2 separate regions of the Homo sapiens genome follow, and region 1 is linked to region 2. Evidence: promoter capture Hi-C in 16 types of primary human blood cells and fetal thymus (Javierre and others, 2016). All regions are on one chromosome and are shown on one strand. The core of a region is centred on a gene start or on the middle of the fragment in contact, and the rest is flanking DNA. Distances in the headings are between cores, read along the strand shown.

Evidence for each region. The method cuts DNA at HindIII sites, captures the fragments that hold promoters and counts their contacts. A CHiCAGO score of 5 or more calls a contact.
Region 1: a contact is called between a fragment that was not itself captured here and the fragment with the promoter of SGO1 in region 2, in 1 of 17 cell types (total B cells). The highest score is 7.2, in total B cells.

Annotation. Positions count from the first base shown.
Region 1 is chr3:19,537,130-19,541,223 of GRCh38, forward strand. No RefSeq gene overlaps it. Among named protein-coding and RNA genes, the nearest start is that of MIR4791, 220 kb to the left of the region's middle. RefSeq lists an enhancer at 3,575-3,684. The HindIII fragment of the contact is 358 bases long and covers 2,640-2,997 here.
Region 2 is chr3:20,184,949-20,189,021 of GRCh38, forward strand. SGO1 (shugoshin 1) reads right to left here and starts at 1,258. Exons shown (of 8, transcript NM_001199251.3): 1 at 1,000-1,258. SGO1-AS1 (SGO1 antisense RNA 1) reads left to right here. Exons shown (of 4, transcript NR_132785.1): 4 at 1,027-1,167. RefSeq lists enhancers at 976-1,655, 1,676-1,735. The HindIII fragment of the contact is 754 bases long and covers 782-1,535 here.

The sequences.
Region 1 (4,094 bases), core at 1,569-4,068, 650 kb before region 2:
CTAATAATATTCTAGAAAGTGAGAATTTCAAGTTTTCCTAGATGTTTAATTGTCTAAGCACTGTAGCTACACAAATAGCAAAGGCCCTTGTCTTCTTATCAGGGATGCATTTTTGAGCCCCTACATTTTCTTCACCTACTCACCCTCTGCTGAAGGAAAGCCCCAGGAACCCAGAGGCAACAAAAGCAGTTATTTTCTTGGTCAAGGTAATTTTCTTTAAAATTATATTGAGAATAAATATTTTCTATGCAATTCTAATTAAAACCAGACAGATTATGCAAAACTTCATGTTAATTCAATATAAGAAGAAATTCCTAATAATTCCAGCTACTTACAAATGGAGTTTATTGTTTATCCCCAATAGACAAAGTGTCCTCTCAGAGGCTGTGTGAGTATTTGACAGGAATAGTTTTTCCAGAAGGGCTGTGCATTGGATCTGAAGTTAGCAGAATGCCTACATCACAACCACATGGGGTATATATTTGAAACGCAGATAATCTAGCTTCAAGCCAGCTGCTTTGAATGGGACCTGAAAATCTACCATTTGGTAAACTTCCTGGGTGACTCAAATACACTAAAGGCTGAGAAGTATTGGTCTAGAATCTATAGAAGTACAAGTCTGAGTCCTAGCTAATCTGTATGTAAGTAGACAACCACTGAAATTCTATTAAGGACAGCCCAGAGTCTGTAATTGTATAATAAAGAAGGCTGATTAACTCCTAAATCAGTAGTCCTCCAACTTTAGTTCAAATAATGTACTTCTGGGAGATCTTATTAAAAGAGAGATTTCAGGGCTCCAGCTCCTTAGACATGAGCTAGGTCCCCAAGTGATTCTAATATGTATGTTCCAAGAAATAAACTCTGAAAACATTGTCCTAAGAAGTACAACCTTTCGTTTTATAATGAGCTGGTTCTGTGGGAAGATGGACCAACTAGAATCAAACCAATTAAAACTGACAAGTTTCTTTCTGTACAGTTCCAAATACATCAATGACCTTTTTTTATCAAAGTAACTGATATCTTTTCTCCAAGAGAGCTTTGAACACCCATCAATTACTTCAATGAAAAATGATTGTCTACTATGTGTCTTACACCACTTATACCTCTTGATTTGTTATAGATCTTTGTTTTCTTGTTTCATTTAGATTTTCTAGAAGAAAAAAGAAAAGTGAAAATACCTTCTGAAGTTTCAAAAATTGGTCAGTTATCTGATAGGAATCATATTTGTATGTGAGGCAAGATAACTATTTGGTCAGCAGATGACAGTTGCTGTGGATGTCCCCTATGTGAAATGGAATTGCTAATGTTAAGATTGTGATTTTATTCATAACAATGAAAACAGCCTGCACCAAATAGTTCTTGCTAAAGCTACTTATTCTCATGGCATATATAGCTCATTTTCTAAGGTCATCTTTTTAAGACATTGCTTTTATGTCTTCTTTTTTAAGTATATAGTACTTCAAATGTAGTCTTCTCTTAGATACCATCATCACCGAAAATAGAGCTTGGGTACAAGTGCAGGCATAGGCTCTATTAAGGGCTCTTCCAAAAGGCTTTCCTTTGCCTATTTATTTCACTTTATAGAAAGGCAAATGGTCCAAATAAATATTAAGCTGAGAAAGGAGCAGAAGTTTTGGAAGAACACAAAGGAGTGTTTGCCTCCAACCATTTTTTTCTTGCTCTGTGATATGGACAAGTTATTTAAGACATCTGAGCCTCAATTCCTTCATCTAAAACTTGAAGAATAAAATATATCCAATTTTCAGAGTCTTCGTGAGAATTAATGAAGTAATTTTTGTGAAGGCACACTACCCGACGTACAATAAACGCTAAACAAATGTCAGTTTATCTTCCTGACCTTTCATCCCCTGGTTCCTTTCCTATTTCCCCCTCCTCCCCTCATCTCCTTCTTACCTCTCCTTCCTGATTTTTTCACCTTTCCTTGCCCCCCCTCTCCTCTTCCCCAACTTCTTCCTGGCTCTCCCTTTATCTCCAGCCTCCTCCCACTTACATCCTCTCCATTCTCTCTTTCCCGCTCCCTCCTCTCCCCTTGGCCCTTCCTCATGCTTCCTCCTTTTCCCTCTCACTCAGTGTTCCAGGCCACCTTCTGGAAAATGAGTCCTCTCTTTGACATTTTCTCTGCTTAGGTCACAAAGTAGCTTTCATAATATGTCCCCTACAGTCTATTCATCACAGTGTTAACAATCAAGTCAACATTTACCTTTTTAAAAAAAGTTGTTGAAGAGCCACCAGGGCAGAAAAACATGCTGTTTCTGCCCCCAGCCACCTTATCCCCAACCCGTGTGGCTTCTAATATGTCTATCTGAATTTCAGTGAAGTTTTATTTTGAACTCTTTAATTACAGAAAGATACAGGAAGTTTATTCACTAACACAAATATATTCTACAAACACATACCATTTTTCCCCATAAAGTTTTTCTATAGAGATTTGCTGTTGCTTTAGAAATCACACACATATATGTCACAACCACCATCCCTGGCCACAGAAGACCTGAGCACTATCAGCCAGAAGCCTCAGAGCTTTCTCTGTGGCAAATGTTGTTGCCCTCTTACCCACAGTTCCTCTGGCTAGAAGCAGAGCTTATGAAATGTCTGCCACTTCACACAGATGCCTTCAAAGCTTCCCTTAGTAGCCCACCGTGTGAGTAGGTCTCATCAGAGGGAATAAGCTAAATGTTACTCCCTGCAGCTTGTGTCCTGAAAGAACCTATTCCTTGAGTTGTGTCATTCACCAAGCCCTGAATAAACAGTATAAAAGACATGAGGACAGCACAGTGAGGCAGAGATAGACCAGCACTTACATACCTGTCATTGCAGGTAATTAAATAAGCTGTTCATTCCAGAAAAAAAACAGCTGGTGGGAAAATGTGTCCAAAGGGCAAAACTATGCCTTCTTAAGCTATTTCCTTTTAACTTGGGTTTTTCCTTTATGGAGATAAGAAGCTGGAAATGGGATGGAATTTGACGCTGAAGCTAAGCTTCTGGGTTTTTTTTCACAGTTGGCTTGATAAAAATAGAACATACATATGTGATATATTTGAGTACAACAAAGAATAAAATAAGAGGAAGTGAGACTTAAAAGTGTGTCTGTGCTTTTTATTTTTGTAAAGAACTAATATACTAAGTTGAAGGGACCACTTTCATTTAAGAATTTCCTCCAGGGTAAAGAGTACCCTTTTGCTTTGGCACTTTTACTTGCCATGGTAATTTTTTTTAACCAGTGCTGACTCTGAACTTTATGCTACTCCTGTAGCTTTATTCTTCACTATGGTTTATTTGTCCTGAGAGAGAATTATTTCTGAACTCTGCATGGGGGTCAGTATTAAATGCTAATAAGGAAGGGGCTCAAACTCAGCCACATCTTTTGGGGAACACAGAGCCCTCTGGGTAGCTGCAGCCACATGGCCAACACTCAGCATCTTTGGGGCCCCTTGCTATGATTGGCAGTGATGTCCAGAAGCCCTCAGATGGAAACACAGATTTCCGAAAGTTGCCATGATAACTTATTGACCAAAATGAGTCATAAGAGTTCCTCCTGCTATAATCAGACAACCTGTGGAACCAAATCTAATTGTCAACTCTGGCTTCCAGTACCCCAAAGGTATTTGAGCCCTGGGCCTAGATCACTTAGCATATCTCTTGTTAACTTACACAAAAACCACGTCTACAGAAAAGGGGTAAAGAAGACAACATTTCTCACACTTGGTTCGCAGGGTGTGGTTTGCGGGACAACAGCAGCAGCTTCATCTGGAAGCTTGTTAAAAATGCAAAATCCTGGACCCCCATCTCAGAGCAGTGAATCAGAATCTACATTTTGACAAGATTCTCAGGTAATTTGTGCACATGTTAAAGGCTTAGAAATACCTGAACAAGGCCGGGTGCGGTGGCTCACACCTGTAATCCCAGCACTTTGGGAGGCTGAGGTGGGTGTATCACGAGGTCAAGAGATGGAGACCATCCTGGCTAACATGCTGAAACCCCGTCTCTACTAAAAATACAAAAATTAACCACGCATGGTGGCGGGCGCCTGTAGTCCCAGCTACTTGGGAGGCTGAGTCAGGAGAATCGCTTAA
Region 2 (4,073 bases), core at 8-2,507:
ATAACAATCTATGCACAGAATTTTCACTACAAAGGATATCTTCATCTCCTCTACGATAGTCAAATATTTTCCTAAACCTTACACTTAATCTTGAGTATTTCCTCCAGGCCTTATTTTCCTCTATGCAGTGTCTGGAATCTTAAATATAGGTATTGTAGATACCACTTAAGAACTTTCTTTCTACCAAGGTATATACAATATGTACTGGGAGGTTCCTAGCAGAGATAGGGTAGCTATTTTTAAAAGCACGAACGGTAAAGGGGTTGTTTTACACAATTAAGTTAGAATTGGAGATGTTTGAGAGTCATACAGATTAAGTAACGGATCTAGTTTAGTTAAGGTATTTTAAAGGCAAAGCCTTACCTAAAAAGCTTTCGTTATTACTTTTAATCAAGTTAAAAATCACAAAAGAAACTTGCCATATCAAAAGTTTTATATCCTGTCTAAATAAGGCGATGGTTATTAGCAGGGGGTGTGGTAGACAGAAGGGATGAAAGCAAAGACAGACCACAGCGCGAGATGACGGTCTCAATCTGTACAGTACTCGTGTAAGCGCTCTGGATTTAAAGAACCTAGCATATTTGATCTCCGTCCATAATTCTCCAATTAGTCCTGCTGCGAAGACAGCCAGGTAGGATACTAGTCAGTGCCGGCCTCTCCAGGGTAAGTGAGGAAGAGAATGGCCTGGACAAGGAGGACGTCAACGGTATCACGCTGCACAAAGAACTGCTGTCAATTTTCTTGTGTCCTTACGTTGAGCCAGGCTTTTAGCTATTGTAAAAGCTTTATTTGCACATCACTTAATCTACACAATTTTGCAAAGTAGGAAATTAGGGTCTCCATGGAAGCCGGAACATCTGAAAGCGCAGATCGAGTGGCTGAACGGCGAAAAGCGCGGCGAGTGGGACTCCACGGCCCGAGCTTTCGGCCACCGAATTTAGAATGATACTGAAAACCGAAGGGAAGTCAAACAGGGATCACTACGCCCTTGTTTCGCACCTTAAAACCTACTTCTTCCTCTTTCAGGGACTCCAGGAAGGCCGGGGGGAGGTGGGGCTGGCGGAAGTGGACGCGGCGACCCTCCTGCCGCAGGCGCGTCCAGAACGATACCTTGGCCACTACTTCTGCAACAGCTATCTTCCTCCTCCTCACATTTCAAGGCTCTTCGAAGCTCTCCAGCCACGGCTAGCCCCGCGCACTGGGCCCTCCAGGACCGTACCACCGTCCGCCGTCGCCTGGAACTACCGCCGCCACATTCGAAATTTTCCGCCTCGCTCCTCCATTGGTTGGCTGGGAGGCGGTCACGTGGCGCAGGATGCACCCAACACCACCGTCGCAGGCAGAGTCCCGCCCCGCCAGGCGACGTCACGTGACGCACATTCGCTCAAGTCCACATCCGGGCATCCACCTGGCCCTGGGGCGGAGCCTGCGGTCGGGTCTCGGCGACCCGCCGGGACTTTCTAATCAGAGTCGTGGGGATTTTACGGGTGGAGTTACTCCGAAACCTTTAAGGCCGAGTGTGATAGGTAGTTCAAAGCTTCCTGTTTCTTCAGTCTGACAGCTTCAAATGTCCCGGGTTGTGCTCAAAGCCTCCCTCTTGTGAGAAGAATCTCTTTGGTTGCCTGTTAAAGCGGTCAGCCAGCTTGCAACACGGAAGCAGCTTTTAGAGGAATTAAAACCAAAACAAGGAGCAAATTCTGGATTAAAAAGGTATTAGGGAAACTGCAGATACCTGAAAATTCTAGCTCCATGTTTCTCTTTGCCGGCTATCTCTGGCTCTTTAACTCTTCTCGAGAAATGGCACCAACATCCATCCAGTTACCGACTAGAAGCCTGAGAAATCGTCCTTAATGATTATTTATCCTCTCTTAACCTTTGCCCGTCCAGTCGGTCACACGATCTTCTCAACTCTGCTTTCCAAGTTTCTCTCATGCCCATCTTTTTCCCCCCAATCCAGCTTCCAGCCTAATCTCATTCCCTAAATTGCACTAGTACCCACTCTGACCGCAGACTCCACTCCCTATATTCTTCATAGATTAATATTTTTACAAAACAAGTATCAAATAGGAAACTTTACAATGGCTCCCTATTGCATTTAAGGTGAATTTCAAACTCCTTTAAGATATTTTGTCCTTAAAGAGCCCCATGATTCCTGGTTCCATCACTTGTACATTTTCTTTAATTTTCTTAAAATTCTTGCCACTTTTGCCAATGCTGTTCTGTCAAGAACACTCTTTCCCTTGGCCGAACTTACTCCTATGTATACTGAAGTTTCACTGTACAGATGAATTCTTCCAGAAAGACTTATCTACCCCTAAAGCCCCTGAGTGTCTGCTTTACACTTTCTTAGTGCCCTGCATTTTCCCCTTGGTATTCCTTGTGACACTGACTTGTCGTTCATTGCCTGTTTCTTGAAGTTGAATAAGGGCAGGAACTACATCTGCTTTGTTCATAGCTAAATTGTCAGCATCTCGTTGCAATTTGAAGTAAGTAGTAAATATTCACTGGGACAATAAAGGAACAAATAAATGAAAACGAAACAAATGTTTTGAATCTAGGCATTCTTTATGAAGGTGTGTTGTTGTTTTTTAAAGGTAGCTAACACATGCTTGCTCTAGTCTGGGTACCCATCCTGGCTTGAGTGGAAGAGGCTGAAACACCCTTCTCCAGCCAACAACTCCCTCGTTTTCCAAGTTAACCAGACCAACTCCATTAACCCTCAGTTTACTGCCACTGGGCAATGTGGCTTATATGTGTAGAAGCATCAAGAAGGAATGGGCAGAGAGGTTTTTTGTTGTTTGAGGTCAGAAAATTATGAAGTGGAACATGAGAGCAGAGAATAGGGCCAGCTTCATGAGCAGGCAACCGGTGCTTAGAAGGGCTGTACATTTGGTTTAATGCTCTGCTGTTGCCGTCTTGAAATGCTTAGGAGTTTATATTTGAACTTATGTTTTGTAAGTGATGTCTGATGAGACAATGGAGCAATCTTGTGAGCAGATGTGATTCATGCAATGTGTGTGTCTGTCACTGTTTCTTGCCCCATGTCATACAATGTTCAGGATGCGCACTAAATGGCCTCCATGAACCACTTATTTTGTAGTTAGGGACCTAAGTACAAAGTGCTCAGAAGGGCTCACCCTTGCCCTCTTGAAATTATTATTATTTTCTTTGAGACGGAGTTTTGCTGTGTCTCCCAGGTTGGAGTGCAGTGACATCATCTTAGCTCACTGCAACCTCTGCCTCCCAGGTTCAAGCAGTTCTCCTGCCTCAGCCTCCCAGGTAGCTGGGATTACAGGGACCCACCACTACGCCCCCTAATTTTTGTATTTTTTTGTAGAGACAGAGTTTTGCCATGTTGCCTAGGCTGGTCTCAAACTCCTGAGCTCAAGTGATCTGTCTGCCTCAGCCTTCCAAACTGGGATTACAGGCTAAGCCATCATGCCCAACCACGTTACTATATTTTCTAACCACTTACACTAAAAGTGATGGCATGAAAGGAAAAGGAAAGATAAGACATTCCACAATTCCTTTTCTTTTCAGTCTTTCTCTACTTATCGGTAAGCTGAAGGTTTTTGTCTTGGATTTTGAACAAGGAGCATCATATTTTCATTTCACATTGACCCACACAGATTATATAGCTGGCCCTGACCAAAGGCTTTGAGGTTCTGACTTTTTGAGGGGTGTCTTCCCCGTTCCCAATTTAAAAATGGGTCAGACTTCAAATCAGGTGTTTATTATAGAGCCCTAAAGAATAGAAATGGCTGAATTTAGGGGCAGTGAGGGAAAATACCACCAGAGTCCTAGCATGAGTAACTTTTGTACATCAAAATGTTCTACTGCCGCTGATTTTAGGGAACTGAATTACTGTTGGAATCAATAGCTCTTTTAAAATTTTGTGGAAACTACAACTCTTCCCAGGAAGAATGCACATATTCCTTTTTGAACAAAAATATGCATATTTCAAAGAGTACTAAATGGTGGACTGGAGTTTGAACCCAGGAAGCCTGGCTCCAAAGTCCATGCTATTAACAGCTGGACTATGTTCTGCGACTTCTCCCTTTTGTTATATCACA